3 separate regions of the Homo sapiens genome follow, and all the other regions are linked to region 2. The links are contacts of gene promoters, found by promoter capture Hi-C in blood cells and fetal thymus (Javierre and others, 2016). All regions are on one chromosome and are shown on one strand. Each heading gives the region's core, a stretch centred on a gene start or on the middle of the fragment in contact. The rest is flanking DNA. Distances are from core to core; before and after follow the strand shown.

The links. The method cuts DNA at HindIII sites, captures the fragments that hold promoters and counts their contacts. A CHiCAGO score of 5 or more calls a contact.
Region 1: a contact is called between the fragment with the promoter of STT3A-AS1 here and the fragment with the promoter of PRDM10 in region 2, in 1 of 17 cell types (naive CD8 T cells). The highest score is 8.0, in naive CD8 T cells.
Region 3: the fragment with the promoter of PUS3 here is called in contact with the fragment with the promoter of PRDM10 in region 2 in 1 of 17 cell types (naive CD8 T cells); the score reaches 5.5 in naive CD8 T cells.

The regions. Positions count from the first base shown.
Region 1 is chr11:125,591,095-125,593,847 of GRCh38, reverse strand. STT3A-AS1 (STT3A antisense RNA 1) reads left to right here and starts at 1,280. Exons shown (of 4, transcript NR_132372.1): 1 at 1,280-1,430. It overlaps STT3A (STT3 oligosaccharyltransferase complex catalytic subunit A), which reads right to left and starts at 996. Exons shown (of 18, transcript NM_152713.5): 1 at 930-996. RefSeq lists enhancers at 1,130-1,724, 1,842-2,011. The HindIII fragment of the contact is 3,144 bases long and covers 120-2,753 here.
Region 2 is chr11:130,001,475-130,004,348 of GRCh38, reverse strand. PRDM10 (PR/SET domain 10) reads left to right here and starts at 1,514. Exons shown (of 21, transcript NM_199437.2): 1 at 1,514-1,627. It overlaps PRDM10-DT (PRDM10 divergent transcript), which reads right to left and starts at 1,725. Exons shown (of 1, transcript NR_024233.1): 1 at 1-1,725. RefSeq lists silencers at 791-1,180, 1,891-2,210, 2,221-2,270, 2,301-2,480 and an enhancer at 1,291-1,380. The HindIII fragment of the contact is 10,759 bases long and covers 1,129-2,874 here.
Region 3 is chr11:125,901,819-125,904,691 of GRCh38, reverse strand. It overlaps PUS3 (pseudouridine synthase 3), which reads left to right and starts at 1,486. Exons shown (of 4, transcript NM_031307.4): 1 at 1,486-1,522. DDX25 (DEAD-box helicase 25) reads right to left here and starts at 184. Exons shown (of 12, transcript NM_013264.5): 1 at 112-184. The coding sequence starts at 174. The HindIII fragment of the contact is 3,679 bases long and covers 774-2,873 here.

The DNA of each region.
Region 1 (2,753 bases), core at 31-2,530, 4.4 Mb after region 2:
GGTGGAAGGCATATAGAATGCTAGCCCCAACACTGAGAAGTCAAGCATGTTCTCCATAATTAACTGTCCCAGAAGAGCAGTTTAGAAATGTGTTTAAGTATAGTCCCAAAGGGAAAGCTTACTTTGCAACTAAAAATAAAGGCCTAACTACTCCAGGAGGTCAACAATCCAGCCATATCTCTCAGGGTTTGCAGCTGTTTTCTGGAATGCCTGAAATAGGAACAAACTTAACACCACTGCGTTGATACGAGCCACACACCAAAATGAGACTGCTAGGATCTCTACTTGAAAACTTGAGTAAACGAGCTAGTCATTGAGGGCAGGGCCGTAAGGGAGATTTCATCTCGTGCTCTTTGGTCACTTTCGCACACCGCCAAGCAAATAAGAGCAAAGACACCTTTCTTAAAACACTTACCAACCTGCTCTCCTCAACTGTGCCCTGCAAGCTGTGGCATCTCCTGCCACCCTGCCTCTAGTTTCCCAGACTGCAATTTCCCCAGCCCCGTTTTCCTACACACGTTTCCACACCCTCTCACGATCTTTTACTCTCTTCTCCCTTCCGGTCGTTCCAGCGGGTCCCACCTCCCTCTTCTTCCCACCCTCAAAGAACTGACCACCTCTGATACCCCTCAGCGCGGGACACTCATCACCCCAGCATCCTACGCGCCTTCCCCTCCATAACTAGTCCCAGGACCCAGTCTTTCCCACGCTCTGTTCTCAAGACCCACCTTACCCTCCCTCCCTAGACCTTCGCATCCTTCCATCCAGGAAGCCCCCACACCACGCCCCACGCCCCCTCCTCTGCAAGGCCCTAAGCTCTGCTCTCCACCCCCATTTAGAGTTTTGCCTCCTGCACTTCGTTCAGCCCCATCAACGCCATGGACTGCACCTGCCGCTGATTTTCAAGTTACGTTCTACGGCCTTCTCACCTGGCCGGCTTTCCTAAACGATCCGCGGGGCTCCCTCAGCCATCCGTTCAGCGGCGCACCCAACCCTGGCAGGAGCCGGGTCCGCCTCCCGGACCGCTCCCCCGTTGGCTGGCTCCAGGCCAATAGGACGCTTCTGGAGAGCGATAGGGTCTCGGAACTGTCTGTCAAATCCGGAGGCGTAAACCGGGCCGCGATTCAAGTTTTTAATTGGTCATTACAGCTATCACTTAGCAGTCTAGAGGCAGGTCTGTATGCTCCCGCCGAGCTGTCATAGGCCGGCGCGTAGGAGTCAAGAGCGCGGAAAGAACGTGCCCCAAGCAGTTTGGTTGAGGGCCGAGGAGTGACGTGTCGGTTTGCGGACCCACGGGGAGTCGCAGTGGGAAGGCGCGGCCCACTGACTCCCGTCATGTGACAAGAAGCGGAAACTACGCTGAAATAGGCCCTTGCTCCAAGTCCCAGTAACTCGGAATGCGGAGCCGCTCGTCTCCCGTCTTTTTTAAGGTAGAAATTGTTACCTAATACAAGGTGAAAGGAGAGGAGGGAAGCATTTTCTACCTATTTATTCTCAATTAAAACTCAAACGCGGACTGGTCCAGACAGTTCGTCTTTTGCAGGATGTGCCTGATAGTTGACTCGAGCTTTTACTGTGCCTTGGTAACTGCGATGGACCTGGGAACCTTGACAGAGTTCACAGCCCCTGGTTTTGTGAAAGAGCGTGCCTAGGCCTAAAGGGGTTGTCGGGGCTAAGCTGGAAGCATTTCTACTGCCAGCTGAGACAGCCACCGCCGCGGAGGCACAGCCCTCCCCAGCAGCAAGCGGGCTTCCTCGGGAGACCGGGAGGCAGCCCGGCCATGCTTAGTCAGTTCAGCCCTTTGTTAAAATACCGGCCAGAGAGCCGCTCTCCCTATCCTAACTTGCCTCTCTTCTCTCGCACCCCACGCGCTCCCCGACCCCCAATAAGTTTGCTGAGGGCAGAGAAGGGGACGAAGTTTGAGCAGCAATTCCATCATCTCAGACTCGCACGTGTACACCTTTATCCTCAGGCACTTCCACTCCCTGCGCGCCTCGGTGAGCCAAGGCTACACCAGAGAGAGTGGGAACGTCTCGCAGCTCTTCGAACTTGTTGCCTCTACCACTCACGCAGTTTCCTATTCTCCCATGAACGGAACCCACCACTTATTGAAAGGTCATTATTTAAATCACTGCTTCAGAATCACATGCATTTTTTTCAAAATCCACATGACCAGGCTCGCCCCAGGACGTTATGATTCAATAGATCTGCTTTTTTTTGGTTTTGTTTTTAGTAGTAAGTGTTCGATGTAATTTTACTTTAACAAAAGGAAACTGAAGCTGAGCCTGAAGGAATTACAGAACTTGGAGTAAATGCTTCTTCAAAATACGAGTTTTGGTCGGGCGCGGTGGCTCACCCCTGTAATCCCAGCACTTTGGGAGGCCAAGGCGGGCGGATCACGAGGTCAGGAGGTAGAGACCATCCTGGCCAACATGGTGAAACCCGTCTCTACTAAAAATAGAAAAATTAGCTGGGCGTGGTGGCGCGTGCCTGTAATCCCAGCTACTCGGGAGGCTGACACAGAATCACTTGAACCAGGGAGTCGGAGGTTGCAGTGAGCCGAGATCGTGCCACTGCACTCCAGCCTGGCGACAGAGCTGGACTCCGTCTCAAAAAGAAGTTTTTTCTCTTTAAAAATAAAAAAGCGGGGAGGGGGGCATTAAAATTAGAAAGATTGTGTTCAAGTTTCTTTTGTTTTTTTTTAAGTATTAACCTAAGAATATTAAGGCCGGTCGCGGTGGCTCACGCCTGTA
Region 2 (2,874 bases), core at 265-2,764:
ATTTGGAAGGCCAAGGCGGGAGAATCACTTGACGTTAGAGTTTGAGACCAGCCTGGCCAACATGGGGAAACCCCATCTCTACTGAAAATACAAAAATTAGCCGGGCGTGGTGGTGCATGCCTGTAATCTCAGCTACTAGAGAGGCTGAGGCAGGAGAATCGCTTGAACCCGGGAGGCAGAGGTTGCAATGAGCCCAGATCTCACCACTGCACTCCAGCCTGGGCAACAGAGCGAGACTCCGTATCAAAAAACAAAACAACAAAACAAAACAAAAAACAGTAAAGAGAATACTATTGAGTTAATTTTACAGTTTTTCACGCTGTGGGTGTTTTCTATTCTCGTCTTTTGCTTAGCTGTCCTGTCTCCCTCTTTTTCTCAGGCAATAGTTTAGGATTTTTGTAAGTTATATTGTCAGTACTTCTCATTTAAGTTCCAGACAGTGTGCTAAGCAAAGCACTTTACTCGGTAAAGTAAGAGCTCACTTAATCTTCAAAATAACGTAGCAAGGTAGATATCACGAACATAGCAAGGTAGATATCACCGAAGGGAAAACCGCTCCCCGAAGGTCCGAAGGTCCAAGGTCTCTCTGCCATCTAGCTGCCCTGCGTATTGCCTGCCAGTGGGTAGTTGGAGCTGGGTATCTCTCCAAAGCTGGGCTCTTGGCTGCCCTTTGTGAAGGCAATTTTAAGGGACAGCAGGATGTGGAAGCCTGCGGTTAAGGAGTGAGCTGAGTCACTGGGTAACCAGTGTTGAATAATGTTTCTCAATGTCTGAAATGACACTCACTTCCTTTCCAGATTGGTAGAGGAGAAAAAAGAGGCGCAGTGAAAGCGCTCTCAAGGTGCGGTGGGTCAGGGTGATAGGCGGCGCCCGGCCGCTCCCTGGGGGTCCTGAGGGCGAGACCCCGGCAGGCTCCCGACTCCGGGAGCCGGGCGGGAGTTCGGTTTTCGCCGGCGCTCCACGGCCAGGCCACTTCGGAGGCAATCTGTGGCGGGGCGGGCGGACGCGAGGGCCGCCTCACCCCCGCGCGTCTTCCGGGACACCGGGCCCTCGGGCGCGCGGGAGGCGGGCTTAGCACGGGCGCAGGCTGCCCTCGGCGCCCGAGACACCCAGGCACAGCTGGAAGCTTCCTCCCCGTTAGCACGCGGGCCGCAGCGGGGGCTTGACCCCAATGCGAAGAGTCGGGTTTTCTGATTGGCTGAGAGTAGAAACGCAGGCGAGCGCCGCCTGAGACCCGCTCTGCGATTGGGTTTTACACGAACAGCAGAGCACGAAATAAAGAGGCCTTCAGTCATTGGGCCATTATGTGAATCTCCTTTTGGCTTCTCTGCAGACTGAATAAGCGTCTCAGGATCTTCGTCATGACTCCTAAATCTGGGCCTGTCAGTTCGCCCCAGCGTTTCTCGTCTCTAGGCACGGCATGGGGCTTACAGAGTTTAACCAATCATATAACGTCGAGATCAGGTTGCCAGGCAGATTATGCTAATAAGACCCCGCCTTTTATGCTGCTCCCACTCTGCGGCGGGAAGAACCACCTGGAGGTGGCGGGGGGGGTTGATTTCTATCACCCCTAGGGAGAGAGGATCGGGGACCCGCTGATCTTCCAGCTCCCCTCACCCAACGTCGTGTAAGTACCTAAAGGATTAAGGGAACCAGATAAGCCAGGGTCCAGACTACCCCATAGACTGGGAGGGTGTTTCGTCTTTGCTTAGTCCCACCCAAAATGGCGCCCAGCTCTTTCCGCGTCTCAGAGCCCGGCCGGGGCCAACCGACCGCGGACCCGGGTGGGGGGGGAATTGATGGTGGTGGTGGGGGGGAGAAATCCCGGCGGCACCGCCCGATGGTACAGTCCAGCCGGGGCTGGGACGAGGCACCTCACTCGGGGTGGGGGGTCAAACCATCTGCACCTTCCAAGGGGAAGAGGGCAAGGCCCCCTCCAGCAGGCCCTCCTGGCGCCGCGTTCAGCGCCGGCCTCGGCGTCTCGTCGCCCCTGCCTTCGCCGCGCGCAGCCTCCCCCTGCGACCCCCGAGTGGCTCGCACGCTCCGCCGGCCGCGCGCACCTCTCCTCCCCTGCCCGCGTTGGTTGGGCCGGGACGGCGGTTGGGCGGCCTGCGCGCTCCGGCGGCGGCGGTTGCGCGGGCGCTCCGGGCGCGGCGGGCAGGTCTCCGCCGGCCGGGAGCCGAGCACCGGGGGCTGGGGGCCGGGCGCCGGGCTGGGGGTGGCAGTGCGGGCAGGGCTCCGGGGCTGGCCGGTTGCGGGCGCGTGGGGCGGAGGGTCCTGTTCGATGGGGCGCCCAGCTTTGTCTGCGGAGGCCGCGCCGCCCACTTGCCATCGATGGCTGGGCCCCCGGCCTGCCTTCCCAAGCTAGCGTCCGGGACCGGGGCGGGGGGCCGGCCCGCAGGGGTGTGGGGTGGCCCCTGCGGGTCTGTCCCGTGGCACCGCGTCGGGGCTGGCCGGGCGGAGGCGGAGGCCGAGGCCGGGGTCGCGGCCCTGCCCCAGTCCGCCTGCACCCAGGGTGCAGCGCAGAGGCAGGGCGAGGCCGGTCGGCGCTCGGGAGAGGGCTGATGGTGTGCACCTCTCCAGCCCCTCGCCAGCTTTTGTTAAGCAGGTTTAACCCTGCAGCTAGGTGTTGATACTCTACTAAGTAAAATGGAATATTCCCCGTCTGCCCTCCAGCCACGCGAACGCAGCGCTGTTGAATTTGTGTGCGCGCCTTTAGCCTTGCTTGGTGGATGAGTTGGATTTTAGTGCATTTTCAATCAATGTGCGTGTACACTTAAGCACAAGGAGAGGTGGCTTTGTGCTGTCATCGAGGATTAGATGTGTGATGAGACCCACCCAGCTCTGCCCTGTGCCCTAATTCTGCTGCTTTGC
Region 3 (2,873 bases), core at 237-2,736, 4.1 Mb after region 2:
GACGCCCCACTTCGAACGCTCGCGGGCTCTCCCTCCCCTCCCAGCCGATCTCCCTCTGCGAGTGGGAGCTCCACCCCCGCGGCTGTGGCCCCCCGGCTCGGTGGCGGTTACGTGGCTGTTCAGCCGCTCGCTCTCCGCCGCCCCTGCGTCGCCTCCCCACAGTAACGACGCCATGGCTGCGATTGCTGCTCCCGCCCCCAGCACGTGCTTCCACCACCGGCGCGAGGCGGTGCTGGCCCCATCCGCTGGCCAATGGGCTTCCTTAGGGGGCAGGCGTCCGCGTCCGCGCCCGCGACCACCGCGGTGCGGCGCGCAGGCGCTGGAAGGCTGGGTGGCGCGCGGAAGGGGCGGAGGGCAGAGAGCGGGGCGGGGGGCAGAGAGCGGGGCGGAGGGCAGAGAGCGGGGCGGAGGGCAGAGAGCGGGGCGAAAGGGCGCGGACCGGAGGGCAGAGGGGGCAGCTTCCGCAGAGTGGAGAGCGCCCCCCGCGCCGCCCCGCGGCCCGCCGCTCACACAGCCCTCCAGGCGGGAGCCCCCCGGACTCCCCGCCGCGCTTTACGCCCCGTGTCGGTTTCCCTGGAAATTTCCGCCTCCACATCACAAGATGTCAGAAAGGTTAGCGAATTGGTTAGCAAAGTGGAGACAAAATCTGATGAATTTGATATGACGAATGACCTCGAATGCCACAGTTGCGGAAAGGAAGCAGAACTGTTCAAGCTCTAACTGCTGTTCCTGCCCTAGATACCTGTGATGTTCCACATAGGCTTTTTAAAGCTTTTATTCTGAAATGTGGTCTCTTGTTAAAAACATTACCTTTCGGTATAACCTCTACGTCCTACATGCGTTTGCATAATCCGGTATAGATCCCTGGATCCCTGGTACTAATGATTTAATGACCGCTCAATTTGGACGAAAGAACCAAATTCCACCTCCCCCCCGCCCCCCAGTTTTCTAATTGTAATTTTGAGATTTTGATCAGCATTTCTGGAATTGGGGGCAAAAATACAAAAACCCACACGAAACTGCAGTCATGATCTCTCCGTGGTGCTGAAGCAACGCTCCCCGCTCTGTTCGGTCACTCTCAGGGCACCTAGTCGTTTGTTTTGAGATTATCATATTCATTTCAGCTTTTAATTTGAATTCTAATAGTAAATGTTTTTGTCTCTCAATGGTAACTTTCTTCTCATTTAACTAGGTATAAAATCGAGCCAAGATCTTCAATCTTTTAGTTTTCGTATAAGGATAGCAGAATTTGAAAAATTACCTTTTTTCTATTATTTTAGCGTAGCACTACAATTCCTCCTTTTATTGCTGTCCCGCCACAGGCCCAGATTCTGCCCTGTGGGCGGAGAAACGGTAGCTGGACTAGAAAACCTCAGGTAGATTCTAGCACCAAGCTCGGTTCTCAGAACTACATTTCCCACAAACTTGGACTACACCTCCCATGAGGGCTCGGGCGCCTGCGCAGAAGACGCACAGTGACAGCTTCCTTTCTCGGAAACGCGGCGCGGCCGGCTGCCGGAAAGTAAGTGTGGGATTTTTGGAGTGGGTTACTTTCTGGGTTCCACAGGGGAAGGGACAAATGGACACACTGCTGAACGGTTGTCTGTTGTCTTCTTTTTGCCCTCTTTCACATACTTTGGTCTTTTCAGGAAAGCATTGCCGTATGGAAATGAGACCTCGCTTAAGACCATGTATTTTTCTTTTGTGCCTGGTACTTTCTGGAGCTCTCGGTGGAAACTCGCCGCAGTAGGGTCGTCTTTAATTCCGTTGTGACGGGAGCTTCAGTGGTACTTGTACTGTGGAGTACAAAAGTGCTCTGCTGCCCCACTTAGAATTGGGTGCTCATAAAACAGTAGAAGTTGAGAACCCAGGAGTATGTGGGAGGCTGTGGCAGCAATTTTCAAATTATTTTGGGGATTGCCTTACATACAGACCACGATTGCTTTCTAGTGATCATAGTGCGTGTCTGCTAATCCTTTGGACAGTACTCCCTCTTCTTCCCTTTGGATTAATATAAAGTTTATCAAGAGGAATGCTATTTATGTGTTAACCCACTGGTTCCTGAGATTAGGACTTTTTTTTTTTTTTTTTTAAGACTGTCGCCCAGGCTGAGTGAAGTGGCGTGATCACTGCTCACTGCAGCCTCTACCTCCTGGGCTCAAGCGATCCTTCCACCTCAGCCTCCAACTAGCTGGGACTGCAGGCGTGCGCCATCTTGGCAGCCTAGTTTTTAATTTTTTAATTAACACACGGTCTCGCTGTGTTGCCCAGGTTGGTCTCGAACTCCTGACTTCGAGCGACCCCCCCTCCCCCCCGCCACCACCCCGTCTTGGCCTCTCAAAATGTTGGGATGACAGGCGTGAGCCACGGCGCCTGGCCCAATGTATGGAACATCTGGTGATGGCCGTTTTAGTTTGTAATTGGTGCTTAGGGGACACACGAATTCCCTCTCTGTGGTTACTTCGCAGCCCTGGCCAGGGTGTTACTTTAAACGTCTGCTTGGGAACTCCTGCACTTCACCCTGAATTAGGGTAAGGTGTGCTGGAAAAAGCACTGTAGTGTACCAAGTCCTGTTTTTGCCACAAATCTGCCTTATGACCAACTAGACTCACTCCCTGGCCTAGTTCTTTAGTTAGCACGGGAGTTGAACTTTGGAGACTTTGGTAATGTTGGACTTTGAGATCCAAATAATCACTGGAGTGTTTTGCATGTTAAAATCACCATGTAATTTTTGACCTCATAAAAAGTCGAGGTATAAATACAAATTACCTTTAATCCCACTACTCGTTAGGTTTTGATCTTTCCCTGTGTGTACTGAGATCATCCTGTATAGTTTATGATACATTCATGTCACTTAATTTCACCTTCCCATA